3 separate regions of the Homo sapiens genome follow, and all the other regions are linked to region 1. Evidence: promoter capture Hi-C in 16 types of primary human blood cells and fetal thymus (Javierre and others, 2016). All regions are on one chromosome and are shown on one strand. The core of a region is centred on a gene start or on the middle of the fragment in contact, and the rest is flanking DNA. Distances in the headings are between cores, read along the strand shown. Region 1 holds the start of POLM (DNA polymerase mu). Region 2 overlaps H2AZ2 (H2A.Z variant histone 2). Region 3 overlaps OGDH (oxoglutarate dehydrogenase).

What was found. Contacts are between HindIII fragments. The CHiCAGO score rates a contact against its expected background, and 5 or more counts as called.
Region 2: a contact is called between a fragment that was not itself captured here and the fragment with the promoter of POLM in region 1, in 1 of 17 cell types (neutrophils). The highest score is 6.0, in neutrophils.
Region 3: a contact is called between a fragment that was not itself captured here and the fragment with the promoter of POLM in region 1, in 1 of 17 cell types (neutrophils). The highest score is 5.0, in neutrophils.

The regions. Positions count from the first base shown.
Region 1 is chr7:44,081,280-44,085,304 of GRCh38, forward strand. It overlaps POLM (DNA polymerase mu), which reads right to left and starts at 1,251. Exons shown (of 11, transcript NM_013284.4): 1 at 972-1,251. The coding sequence starts at 1,159. RefSeq lists an enhancer at 1,025-1,525 and a silencer at 1,237-1,816. The HindIII fragment of the contact is 8,170 bases long and covers 1-4,025 here.
Region 2 is chr7:44,836,777-44,840,801 of GRCh38, forward strand. The region is part of intron 3 of H2AZ2 (H2A.Z variant histone 2); the gene reads right to left. Among named protein-coding and RNA genes, the nearest start is that of H2AZ2, 9.3 kb to the right of the region's middle. The HindIII fragment of the contact is 6,713 bases long and covers 1-4,025 here.
Region 3 is chr7:44,615,598-44,619,622 of GRCh38, forward strand. The region is part of intron 1 of OGDH (oxoglutarate dehydrogenase); the gene reads left to right. Among named protein-coding and RNA genes, the nearest start is that of OGDH, 11 kb to the left of the region's middle. The HindIII fragment of the contact is 6,053 bases long and covers 1-4,025 here.

The DNA of each region.
Region 1 (4,025 bases), core at 1-2,500:
CTGCCTGCCACATACTTGTTTGGCTCTTGGGCAAGCCACGTGTCTATACTTTGATTTCCTCTTCTGTAAAGCAGAGATAACATATCCACCCTGTGGGGTTGTTGTACAAAGATAGTGCCTTGTACACTCTAAGCTGCTATCATCCTCTCCTGAGTGGGTCTGGCGCACTACTGATCCCTGGTAATGTTAAAAAATCAAACACAACTGTGGGGGAATACTAGCCCCAGGTTCGTTTGCTCTCTCAACCTCCAAACTAGGGGGCACCCCCAGCTCCCTTACTCTGGGTGTTGTCTCTGTAGCCGCCATTTTTTCTTCTCTTGGTTCCCTTCCTACAAGAGCTTCTCAGTCGTGTTATTTACTCAGGCCTGAGGACAGAGGAGCCTGCGGGCTCCGGGCCTCTTGAGAAGTCAGTCTCGCTCACAGGTGGGACATAGCCCAGGCAGAAGGGCTGTTAGCAAATACGACTTTTTTTTTTTTTTTTTTTGAGACAGAGTCTCACTCTGTCGCCCAGGCTGGAGTGCAGTGGCGCGATCTCGGCTCACTGCAAGCTCCGCCTCCCAGGTTCATGCCATTCTCCTGCCTCAGCCTCCCGAGTAGCTGGGACTACAGGTGCCCGCCACCACCTCCGGTTAATTTTTTGTATTTTTAGTAGAGACGGGGTTTCACCGTGTTAGCCAGGATGGTCTCGATCTCCTGACCTCGTGATCTGCCCGCCTCGGCCTCCCAAAGTGCTGGGATTACAGGCGTGAGCCACCGCGCCCGGCCTACTGCTTATTAATTACCCCTGACCTCTGGTTTTGATTCTCGCAGTGATCCTTTAAAACACGCCTCGCCCTAATTAATAGCACCCTTTACAGAAGAGGAGATGGAGGCTCAGGGAAAGGTCACAAGACCACGAAGTGCCACTGCAAACTTAGAATCCAAAACCAGAAGTGCCATGGAAGCCCTCGCCGCGCCGCGCCGCCCCGCACCTGCAGGCGTCAAGGACGCGGAAGCCTTTGGAGCGCGCCAGGCCTGTGAGGAAGGCCCGGCGGCTGCGACCCATGCGAGGCTCGACCAGGTAGATGGCGACTCCCGGGAAGCGCGTCGAGGGCGGCGTGGAGGAAGCGGCATCGCCGCTAGGGGACCCGACCCGCGCTCGCCGCCGTTTGGGGAGCATTGGGACGACAGCCTCCAGCAGCGCGGAGCGAACGCAGAGGGAAACTCCGAGCGAGACGGAAGGAAGCCCCAGTGAGGCTGACGGAAGCGGGTGGGCGGGCGGGCGGCCGCCGGCTGGAAGAGGACGTGGCCCCGCCCTATGCAAATGAGGCCTCTCCGTGGGGCTCGCTACTTGGGCCAGTCGGAGCGCTGGGGAGGGTCCGGGCTCCTACAGGATTGGGTGTCCCGGCCGCTCCGGAAGACCCGCCTCCATGCAAATAACGGCAGAGGACCCGCCTTTTATTTAAATTAATGTCTCGGAAAGCGCTGTTCGGCCCCATTGGCCTCCGGGAGGAGAGGCTGGGCTGGAGCGGGGCGGGGAGGGTGTTGGAGGGGGTGGAGGAGGCGGGGTCAAGGGGGCGTCCCCGGCTAGGGAGGGTGAACTGGGACCTAGGCCCGGGCGGAGCGGGGTGGGCTGTGTCCTTGGCGCCGGGGCTGGGTCTAGGGTTGAGCCGGCGGCTCGGGGCGGACGCGTGCGGGCTGTGCCCGATCCCTCTGCGCTCGGGACTGTCACACGGAAGCCGGCGGGCGCAGGACCGACACGCGGGTTTCCAATGCGCTGGTGGGGCGGTCGCTTCAAACACGCGGGAAGATTTTTCAGTCGAATGGCATTAGGACAACTGGCAGGCCATTTGGAAAAATAGAAGTTGGTGCCCTTCCTCATTCCTTAACACCAAAATAAATTCCAGATGGGTCAAACATTTCCATCTAAAAAGGAAACCAACAACGTACTGGAAAAAAGTCGGTGAATGTTTTTATGATCTAAATATCACAATAAACTTGGAAACACTAAAGGAAAAGAATGATAAACTGGACTACAGACAAATTTTAAATCTGATTAAAAATTAGAGTCAGAAGATAAACTGGGATAAAGTGTGAGATATTTTGGAATTAAGATTATCTCATGATAATCTTATCAAATTGTCCATAGATAAAAAGACAATAATTTAATAGAAAAATTAGCAAAAAAACTCACGTAGATGATTCTTAGAAGAAATCCTGGTCAATAAATTTATGACCAGAGTGCCCAACCTGTCCAGTCGTTACAGAATACCTAAATGAGAATATCTTCAGTTGTGGGTTTATCAAACATTCAAAAAAATTGACCACACATGTTGAAGGTGCGAGGTAATTGGCAATCCATAGGAAGGACTGTGGAAGCCAATGTGGCAACCACATCCAACAAAATGAAAACAAAATAATACACATTGATCCAGCAATTCCTTTCCCAAGATTGGGATTGCATTGAATCTATAGATCAAGCTGGGGAAATCTGATGTCTTGATAATATCAAGTCTTCTGTCTATCTTATTTAGATATACTCCATTTGTAACCTCTGTTACGGTAGTGTGGCACTGCTCAGCCTAACTGATGGGACACCAGATCAGATGCAACCCCCTTCCACATGCCTCTCCTCATCACTGCCCCATCGTCCTCAGTCTTGAGCCCCAGACTCCTTGAGCACCTATCCTTTTTCTTTGGCTCCTCTCTGACATCTTTAGTGGGCTGGCTCTTCCCCATCTCTGCACTCAGAGCACAGGGCTGAGGGGAGTGGGGGAGATGGCTCAGCCCAGGCATCCTCTTGACCTCCTACACCATCTCCCAGCCTCCTAATTCATCTACCTCTTCAGGGCTGTAGAGCTTCCTGGGCCTCAGGACCCACATACAGAAGCCAGGAGGCCTGCGTATGGTCCCTCTCTCCCCATCCTCCCCTTGTGCCAGCAGGGATGGGCAGGCTCTAAGGGTCTTCGTCTGTGGATCTGGCTCCTACCCTTCTCAAGGAGGAGGCTCTGCCCAAATATCCCCTGAGCAGATCCCTCTAGCTGTCTAAAACCATTTCTGTTCCTTTTAATGTCCTCTGTCTGGCCAGAGCACCTGGGCTCCCCTTGGAGCCCTTGTTCTCTCCTGGGAAGGCAGAGGCAGTTTTTAAGACTATGAGACCTGAATACTTAAAACACTGGGCAACTGTGCAAAAATGTTTGTGCAAGGAATCTCATCCAAATGACAGTGGAAGAAACTGCCTAGCTTAGAAATCAGCCAGGCCCTCTGAGTGGTTGCTGCAAAGTGTCTGCTAGGACAACATGGGGCTGAAGGATTCATGAAGATTGGCCAGTGGGGGCAAGAAGGGGTGAGGAGGTGGGGAGAGAGAGGGACTTGCCTGCTCTGCAGGACGAAGATGTGCCCTATACCCAGGGAGAGGTGGCCTGCCGTGGAGGTGAAACCACCTTTGCAGAATTGTAAGTCATGAGAGAAATCTAACATGACTGCCTCCCTCTTGCATCTAACCTCACAGACTAAATTGGTTTTCTTATTTCTTTTTTTTTCTTCTTCTTCTTGTAGTGCAGAGGCCAACATAACTATGAGAGGAATTTAGTTCATAGTTAAAGGCAAGAAAAACTGACCCCCTCCTTGTTTGGAGATTGAAACCACATTCATAAGACAAGGTTAGAATTGTGGTGGGGCCTGAACTTTGCTAAAGAATGGGCATAAACAGCGACCTGCCGTTTCTCACTTGGCTTGCTTTTCTATAATGCTTACTGCCCTGGAGTCACATAGCCGGAAATCTCAAGATTTCTAACTTCTCCAGCTGCTCATATAGAGGCCGGGCACAGTGGCTCACACCTGTAATTCCAGCACTTTCGGAGGCCAAGGCGGGTGGATCACTGGAGGTCAGGAGTTCGAGACCAGCCTGGCCAACATGGTGAAACTCTATCTCCCTAAAAATACAAAAAAATTAGCTGGGAGTGGTGACACATGCCTGTAATCCCAGCTACTCAGGAGGCTGAGGCAGGAGAATTGCTTGAAGCTGGGAGGTGGAGTTTGCAGTG
Region 2 (4,025 bases), core at 712-3,211, 760 kb after region 1:
ATGAGGTCAGGAGATCGAGACCATCCTGGCTAACACGGTGAAACCCTGTCTCTACTAAAAATACAAAAAATTAGCTGGGTGTGGTGGCAGGCACCTGTAGTCCCAGCTACTCGGGAGGGTGAGGCAGGAGAATGGCGTGAACCCAGGAAGCGGAGCTTGCAGTGAGCCGAGATGGCGCCACTGCACTCCAGCCTGGACGACAGAGCGAGACTCTGTCTCGAAAAGAAAAACAAAAACAAAAACAAAAAACAAAACAACAAAAAAAACAGACACAGGGTTTCACCATATTGGCCAGGCTGGTCTCAAATTCCTGACCTTGACTCCGTCTCAAAAAAAATAAAAAAATCAAACTCCTGACCTTGTGATCTGCCCGCCTTGGCCTCCCAAAGTGTTGGGATTACAGACGTGAACCACTACGCCAGGCCACCTCCTCGTTTTAAATAGAGCAGTGTTGGGTATACAGGAGAATCAACTGCTGAACTTTAAAAATACAAAAATCAGCAAGGTGTGGTGGCACACGCCTGTAATCCCAGCTACTTGGGAGGCTGAGGCAGGAGAATCGGTTGAACCCAGGAGGTGGAGGTTGCAGTGAGCCGAGATTGAGCCACTGAACTCCAGCCTGGGCGACAGAGCAAGACTCTCAAAAAAAAAAAAAAGAAAAAAAAAAAAAAAAAAAAAGTTGACTGCACCCACACATTCATTGTCCAATCTTAACCTAAATTGTTTTTTTTTTTTGAGACATGGTCTCACTGTCATGCAGGCTGGAGTGCAGTGGTGCAATCATGGCTCACTGCAGCCTCAACCTCCTGGGTCAGGTAATCATCCCACCTCACCCTCTCCACTAGCTGGGACTACAGGTGCACACTATCACATCTGGTCAATTTTTTGTATTTTTTTGTAGAGACAGGGTTTTGCCATGTTGTCCAGGCTGGTCTGGAAGTCCTGGACTCAAATGATCTGCCCACATTGACCTCCCAAAGTGCTGAGATTACAGGCATGAGCCACTGTGTAAACTTTAAAAATTTTAACCAAAGTTCCCAAAGATTTAAAAAAAAGGGGGGGGGGGCTTAGATAGATGGGGCTTGAACCTTGTGAACCACAATGTTCAATGTAAGACACCACACCCAGCCAAAGTCATATATTTTAATATATCTATGTGGTCTATTTCTGCAGAACCTTTAATAGCTGAAATTTCTTTTTTTTTCTTTTTTTTAAGACGGAGTCTCGTTCTGTCGCCAGGCTGGAGTGCAGTGGCGCGATCTCGGCTCGCTGCAACCTCTGCCTTCTGGGTTCAAGCAATTCTCCTGCCTCAGCCTCCTGAGTAGCTGGGACTATACACAGACACACGCCACCATGCCCAGCTAATTTTTGTATCTTTAGTAGAGATAGGGTTTCACTATGTTGGCCAGAATGGTCTCGATCTCTTGACCTCGTGATCTGCCCACCTCAGCCTCCCAAAGTGCTGGGATTACAGGCGTAAGCCACCGTGCCCAGCCGTGAAATTTATTTCTTAATGCTTATAGAAAAGTTTTAAAATGTATTTTAATTAAAATTTAAAAATTTTTAAAAATAAAAGAGGCCAGGTGGCCTCTTTTAATAAAAGGTGGCTCATGTCTGTAATCCCAGCACTTTGGGAGGCTGGGGCGGACAGATCATTTGAGGTCAGGAGTTCGAGATCAGCCTGGCCAACATGGCAAAACCTTGTCTCTACAAGAAAATAACAAAAATTAGCCAGGTGTGGTGATGCACACCGGTAGCCCCAGCTACTCCGGAGGCTGAGGTGGGAGAATTACTGGAACCCAGAAGGCAGAGGTTGCAATGAGCAGAGATCATGTCCCTGCCTTCCAGCCTGGGAGACAGAGAGAGATCCTGTCTCAAAACAAACACACAAGAAAAACCCCAAAAACAAAACACCCCTTGATCATGACACAGAGAAGCTGAAACTATCCATAACATCCATAATTCGATGTTAAATCCCCAGTGGGACACAGATGACTTGGTGAGACTAATGAAATAAATGACAGCAATGATAACTGACATACAGATTAAAAGCTAAATTCCTCAGCCTAGCTCCCAATCACATCTCCCCAAGTAAGACCCTTCTGTTTCCACCAGAATGAATGCGTCTACACTTGACCTACTTGTTACTCAAATTACTTCCCCAATCTGGAATGTAGCTGAAGTTTTATGACTTCCCAACGGATTTTTTTAAAGGAGGAATAGGGATGGGGAAAGTGGTGGTCTGTGACCCAAGAACTCTTGCCCAATTAACTTGTCTTCCTGAAATTTCAAACTGAGTAATATACAGCAATTTTGTATGTATAACCCTGCAGAGAACCAGGACAGACTGAGTCTTTTACTTCTATTATCATATTTGTGATTTTTATATATCATCACACTGGCCAAACTTTACATCATCCCAAATCTTCATAAACTACAACATTATGCTCTAACTTCACAAATACTGTCTACTGATTACATACATACTTCAAAGTTCACTGGGGTATGGTGGTTTATGTCTGTAATCCCAGCAACTTGGGAGGACCACTTGAGGCTAGGAGTTAGAAACCAGCCTGGGTAACATAGGGAGCCCTGTCTCCACAAAAAAATAAAAAATAGGCTGGGCGCGGTGGCTCACGCCTGTAATCCCAGCACTTTGGGAGGTGGAGGTGGGTGGCTCACGAGGTCAGGAGATCGAGACCATCCTGGCTACCACGGTGAAACCCCGTCTCTACTAAAAATACAAAAAAAAAAAATTAGCCGGGCGTGGTGGCGGGTGCCTGTAGTCCCAGCTACTCGGGAGGCTGAGGTGGGAGAATGGCGTGAATCCGGGAGGCGGAGGTTGCAGTGAGCCGAGACTGCACCACTGCACTCCAGCCTGGGTGACAGAGCGAGCCTCTGTCTCAAAAAAAAATAAATAAATAAAATAAAAATAAAAAATTAGCACCCAGCGCAGTGGCTCACACCTGTAGTCCCAGCACTTTGGGAGGCTGAGGCAAGTGGATCACCTGAGGTCAGGAATTTGAGACTGACCTGGCCAACATGGTGAAACCCAGTCTCCTCTAAAAATACAAAAATTAGCCGGGTGTAGTGGCGGGTGCCTGTAATCCCAGTTACTGGGGAGGCTGAGGCAGGAGAATTGCTTGAACCCAAGAAGTGGAGGTTGCAGTGAGCCAAGATTGTGCCATTGCACTCCACCTGGGATACAGAGCAAGACCCTGTCTCAAAATAAATAAATAAATAAATAAATAAATAAATAAATAAATAATTAGCCAGGTGTGGTGGCACACACCTGAAGTCACAGCTACTAGGGAGGCTGAGGCAGGAGGATCCTTTGAACCCAGGAGGTTTGAGGTTGGAGTGAGCTATGATCATGCCACTATACTCCAGCCTAGGTGACAGAGTGAGACCCAGTCTCAAAATAAAAAAATAAAAATAAAAGATAAGAGATTGCTGGCCCTTGCTTAACTTTTAAAAATTTTTTTACTTTGAGATAGGGTCTTGCTCTGTCACCCAGCCTAGTCTGGAACTCCAGGACTCAAGTGTACAATCTACCCACCTCAGCCGCCCAAAGTGTTGGCATTACAGGCGTGAATCACTGTGCCCAGCCCCTTGCTTAGCTTTAAAAACAAGTACACCAAGGTTCTTTTACATTGGCATTGGGTAATAGCTGACAAGATGCATCTCAAACTGCTATTAAAGAAACCAATGAGGCCGGACGTGGTGGCTCAAGCCTGTAATCTCAGCACTTTGGGAGGCTGAGGCAGGTAGATCACCTGAGGTCAGGAGTTTGAGACCAGTGTGGCCAACATGGTGAAACTCTGTCTCTACTAAAAATACAAAAATTAGCTGGGCACAGTGGTGCACACCTGTAGTCCCAGCTACTTGGGAGGCTGAGGTGGGAGAATCGCTTGAATCCGGGAGGCAGAGGTTGCAGTGAGCCGAGACTGGCCATTGCACTCCAGCCTGGGAAACAAGAGTGAAACTCTGTCTCCAAACAAACAAACAAAAAAGCCCCAGTGAGC
Region 3 (4,025 bases), core at 772-3,271, 540 kb after region 1:
CCATCTTGCTGCTCTTTTCCTGGTCCTTTGGCTAGAGAGAACAGGTTTCTGTTTGTAGTTTTCTTTGTCTACACCTGTTGGCATTTCTGGGTTGTAGGCTTCTCGAGTACCCAGGTCTGAAACACATGAAGCATAAAGAAAATCAAGAACTCAGTGCTCGGCTGGGTGTGGTGGCTCATACCTGTAATCCTAGCACTTTGGGAGTCTGACACTTGAGGTCAGGAGTTCGAGGCCACCCTGGCCAACATGGCAAAACTGTCTCTATAAAAAATACAAAAATTAGCCAGGCATGGTGATGTGCGCCTGTAGTAGTCTCAGCTACTTGGGGGACTGAGGTGGGAGAATCACTTGAGCCTGGGAGGTCCAGGCTGCAGTGAGCCGAGATCACACCACTGCACTCCAGCCTGGGCAACAGAGCAAGACCCTGACAGAAAGAAAAAAAAAAAAAACCTCAATGCTCTTTCTTTGGGTCCTCTGGTTCCTAGCCAGTCTGCTTCCTTCTCTCCACCTTTCACAGTCTTGTTTTGTCTTAAATGTAACGCCTCATGTTTTTAGCTATATTTAGCAGGAAACACGTTTTATATATGCTTTAATGAGATGTTGAAAAATTGTCCTGCTTTCCATAAAGATTTAATAATTTACACTCTATCAATACCTTTTAAAAGTGCCTATTTATCTACACCCTCCCCAGTCAACCTGTTTATACCACATCAGTCATGGGCATCTCAGATGCTGTGGGGCCACGTCTCAGGGAAAGGGCAGAACAGTCTTCAGACCTATATACTGAAGCGTACTCAGGGATCTGATCAGGGAGGTGTCAGTCCCTACCAGTGGTGACCACCCATGATTGGTGAGCTAAATAGGCTTCTGTGCTAAATGATGGAGACAGCCTACTAATGTTTTGGAAGTTACCAGTTGACCGCCACTCCAAATTAGCTAATGTTTAGGTTTAAATATCTTGGAAACTTGAACTTTTTATATCACTAGTTTGCCTTTTTTCCTAGGCTACATATATATATGTATATATATATACACATGTTTATGTATATATACACATATATATACGTATATACGTATATATACACATATGTATATGTATATATATACACACATGTTTATGTATATATACACATATATACGTATATAAGTGTATATGTGTATATATATACACGTATATGTGTATATGCATATATATATGTGTATATATATGCATATATACGTATATATGTGTATATATACACATATACGTGTATATATATACACATATATATATACGTATATATATATGTATATATGTGAGCCGAGATCGCGCCACTGCACTCCATCCTGGACGACAGAGCGAGACTCCTTTCGGAGCTCTGGAGTCTCACTCTGTCGTCCAGGCTGGAGTGCAGTGGCGCGATCTCGGCTCACAGTAACCACCTCCCGGGTTCAAGCAATTCTCCTGCCTCAGCCTCCCAAGTAGCTGGACTACAGGCACCCGCCACAATGCACAGCTAATTTTTTTGTAGTTTTAGTAGAGGCGGGGTTTCAGCATGTTGGCCAGGCTGGTCTCAAACTCCTGATCTCAGGTGATCCACCCACCTCGACCTCCCAAAGTGCTGGGATTACAGGCATGAACCACCATACCCAACCATTTCTTTAGTCATAGATATACCTTCAAGTTTTCAAAGTGCTTTCATATTTGTGTTACAATTACAAAAAGACATTATGAGGGGGTTAGGAGTAATTACTGTCTCCACTTTATGGCCCAGGAAAGCTCACACAGTGACTTGGTGTCACGTGGTCTCTGTTGGCCCAGGAAAGCTCACACAGTGACTTGGTGTCACACGGTCTCTGTACCTGCAGGCTCAACAATTGTTTCCATCTAGCAATGAAAAAAAACTTTACAGTTTAAAAGTAATCCTCACTACTTCCCTCAGCTTATATGTAATGAGGTGTCACTAGTGAAAGATAATAAATTCTTTGAGATTCTCAGCCAATAAGGGAGAATTGATATCTGTACTCTGTACATGAGTTCTTTGTATTACTACTAAAACAAAAATAATTGCAGGCATGAGACAACAGCCATAGGTCTGTAGCAAATGTGTTCATGATTCATCAGAAGAATTGAGTCTGAAACTGAAAAAAAGAAAGTGGATGAGTTGTCCTTTAAAATGGTTGCCAGCTAACACTCATAGGGTTTAAGGATCATGTAATGATGTGTGGGTTTTTTTCCCTCAAAGACTTATTTACTGAGAAACAGCAGACTGTTTTTGCTAGGTCTTGCCTTTTTAATCACCCCCCTACCTAGCCAATGTCATATTGATAGGCGTCAGTAGTTGGTTTATTTCCCTCATTCTTTGTGCCCTGGGATAGGGTACCTCCTACCCAACTGGGGAAATTCGAGGCATAGACCTCGAAGGCTTCATATTTCAGACAGAACCCTATTTAAGTATATCGTTTCCTAAGGGCAGGGCGTTTAACACCTAAAAACTAATTTTCCTTTGGTTTTTACTTTTTTTCTTTGTACAACTTATTTTTCCCAAATGTATGTGTTTATTTTTGCATCTTGAAATTAATGGATTACAACTTGTATCATTTTTGTGTACAGTGATAAGTTCAGTTACATTTTTTCTTACACATTAAAAAAATAACTTTATTGAGACATAATTCACATACCATACAATTCACTCATTTAAATTGTAAGGTGAATGTTTTTCAGTATATTAGAGGGTTGTGACACCATCAGCACAATCTAGTTTTAGAGCATTTTCATCCTCTCCTCCCAAAAAGAAAGCCCTATGTCCATTGAGTTACTCCTCATCCTTCCCTCATTTCTCTGCCCCAGCCCCAGGCAACCACTAATCTACTTTCTCTCTGTATAGATTTGCCTATTCTGGAATGTGATATTATTATCGTATATGGGTTTTTGTCCATGATTCCTGGTTCCATAGTTCTTGTTATTTCCTAAGTAACTAAAATAAGCATGTATTTTGTTAAAGTATTTCTCCTTGGTTCCTGAAGTAGCTTCCAAACAGCTTCAGAGTGATAAAGGTGGAAGTCTTTTGTTACAATGTTGGGGTGCTTTAGGCCCCAGAAACAGGCCTGTGGCACTCCTTTCACCTGCTGCTTTTTCTCCCCAAGGGAGGCCATAGAAACTAAAAATATACTCTAATATTCCTCCACTGTTCTGTCTTGGAGCCGGCAATAAAGAAATTCTCTGACCTACCTTGTCTGATTGTAGGTCACAAGACACCCACTTCAGGAGTCCTGCCTCACACCCACAGGAAGGAATCCTGCACAGAGAGGCCAAGAAGAATCTGAACAAACAGGCCTGGCTGGGTTTCCCCACTCGGTCTGTTGGTATTAGATCATACCCTTTTTGCCTGATCACCTATCTACATGGTTATCTATGCTTCAGTCATGCATATCCAATGAAGTCTCCATAAAAGGCCCAAGAGGATGGGGTACGGAGAGCTTCTGGATAGCTGAACATGTGGAGATTCCTGGAGGGTGGCATGCCTGGGGAGGGTATGGAAGCCTCCTTACCCCATCCTACACCTTGACCTGTGCAACTCTTAATCCACATCCTATGTTATATTCTTTGAAAAAAACAGTAGATGTAAGTAAGTGTTTCCTGAAATTTATTGAACCAAAGGAGGGGGTCATGGGATCTCCAGTTTCTAGCTGGTTGGCCAGAAGTACAAGTAAGACAACTGGGGGCTTGCGATTGACATCGGAAGTAGGAGGCAGCCTTGTGGGATTGAGCCCTTGACCTGTGGTATCTGATGCTGTCTCCAGGTAGGTAGCAGCAGAATTGAATTGCTTATTGGTAGGGAGAATTCCCCACACATTTAGTCACAGAAATCTTCTGTGTTGGTTGTTGTGTGAGAGCAGAGGAATAGACTCATAATATGTCTTTTGCGTCTGCTGCTTTTTACTGAGCATAATGTTTTCAAGGTTCCTCCAGGTTGGAGCATGCACCAGCACTTCCTTAGTTTCATTGCAGAATGCTGTTATATTCTATAGATATAACACGTTTT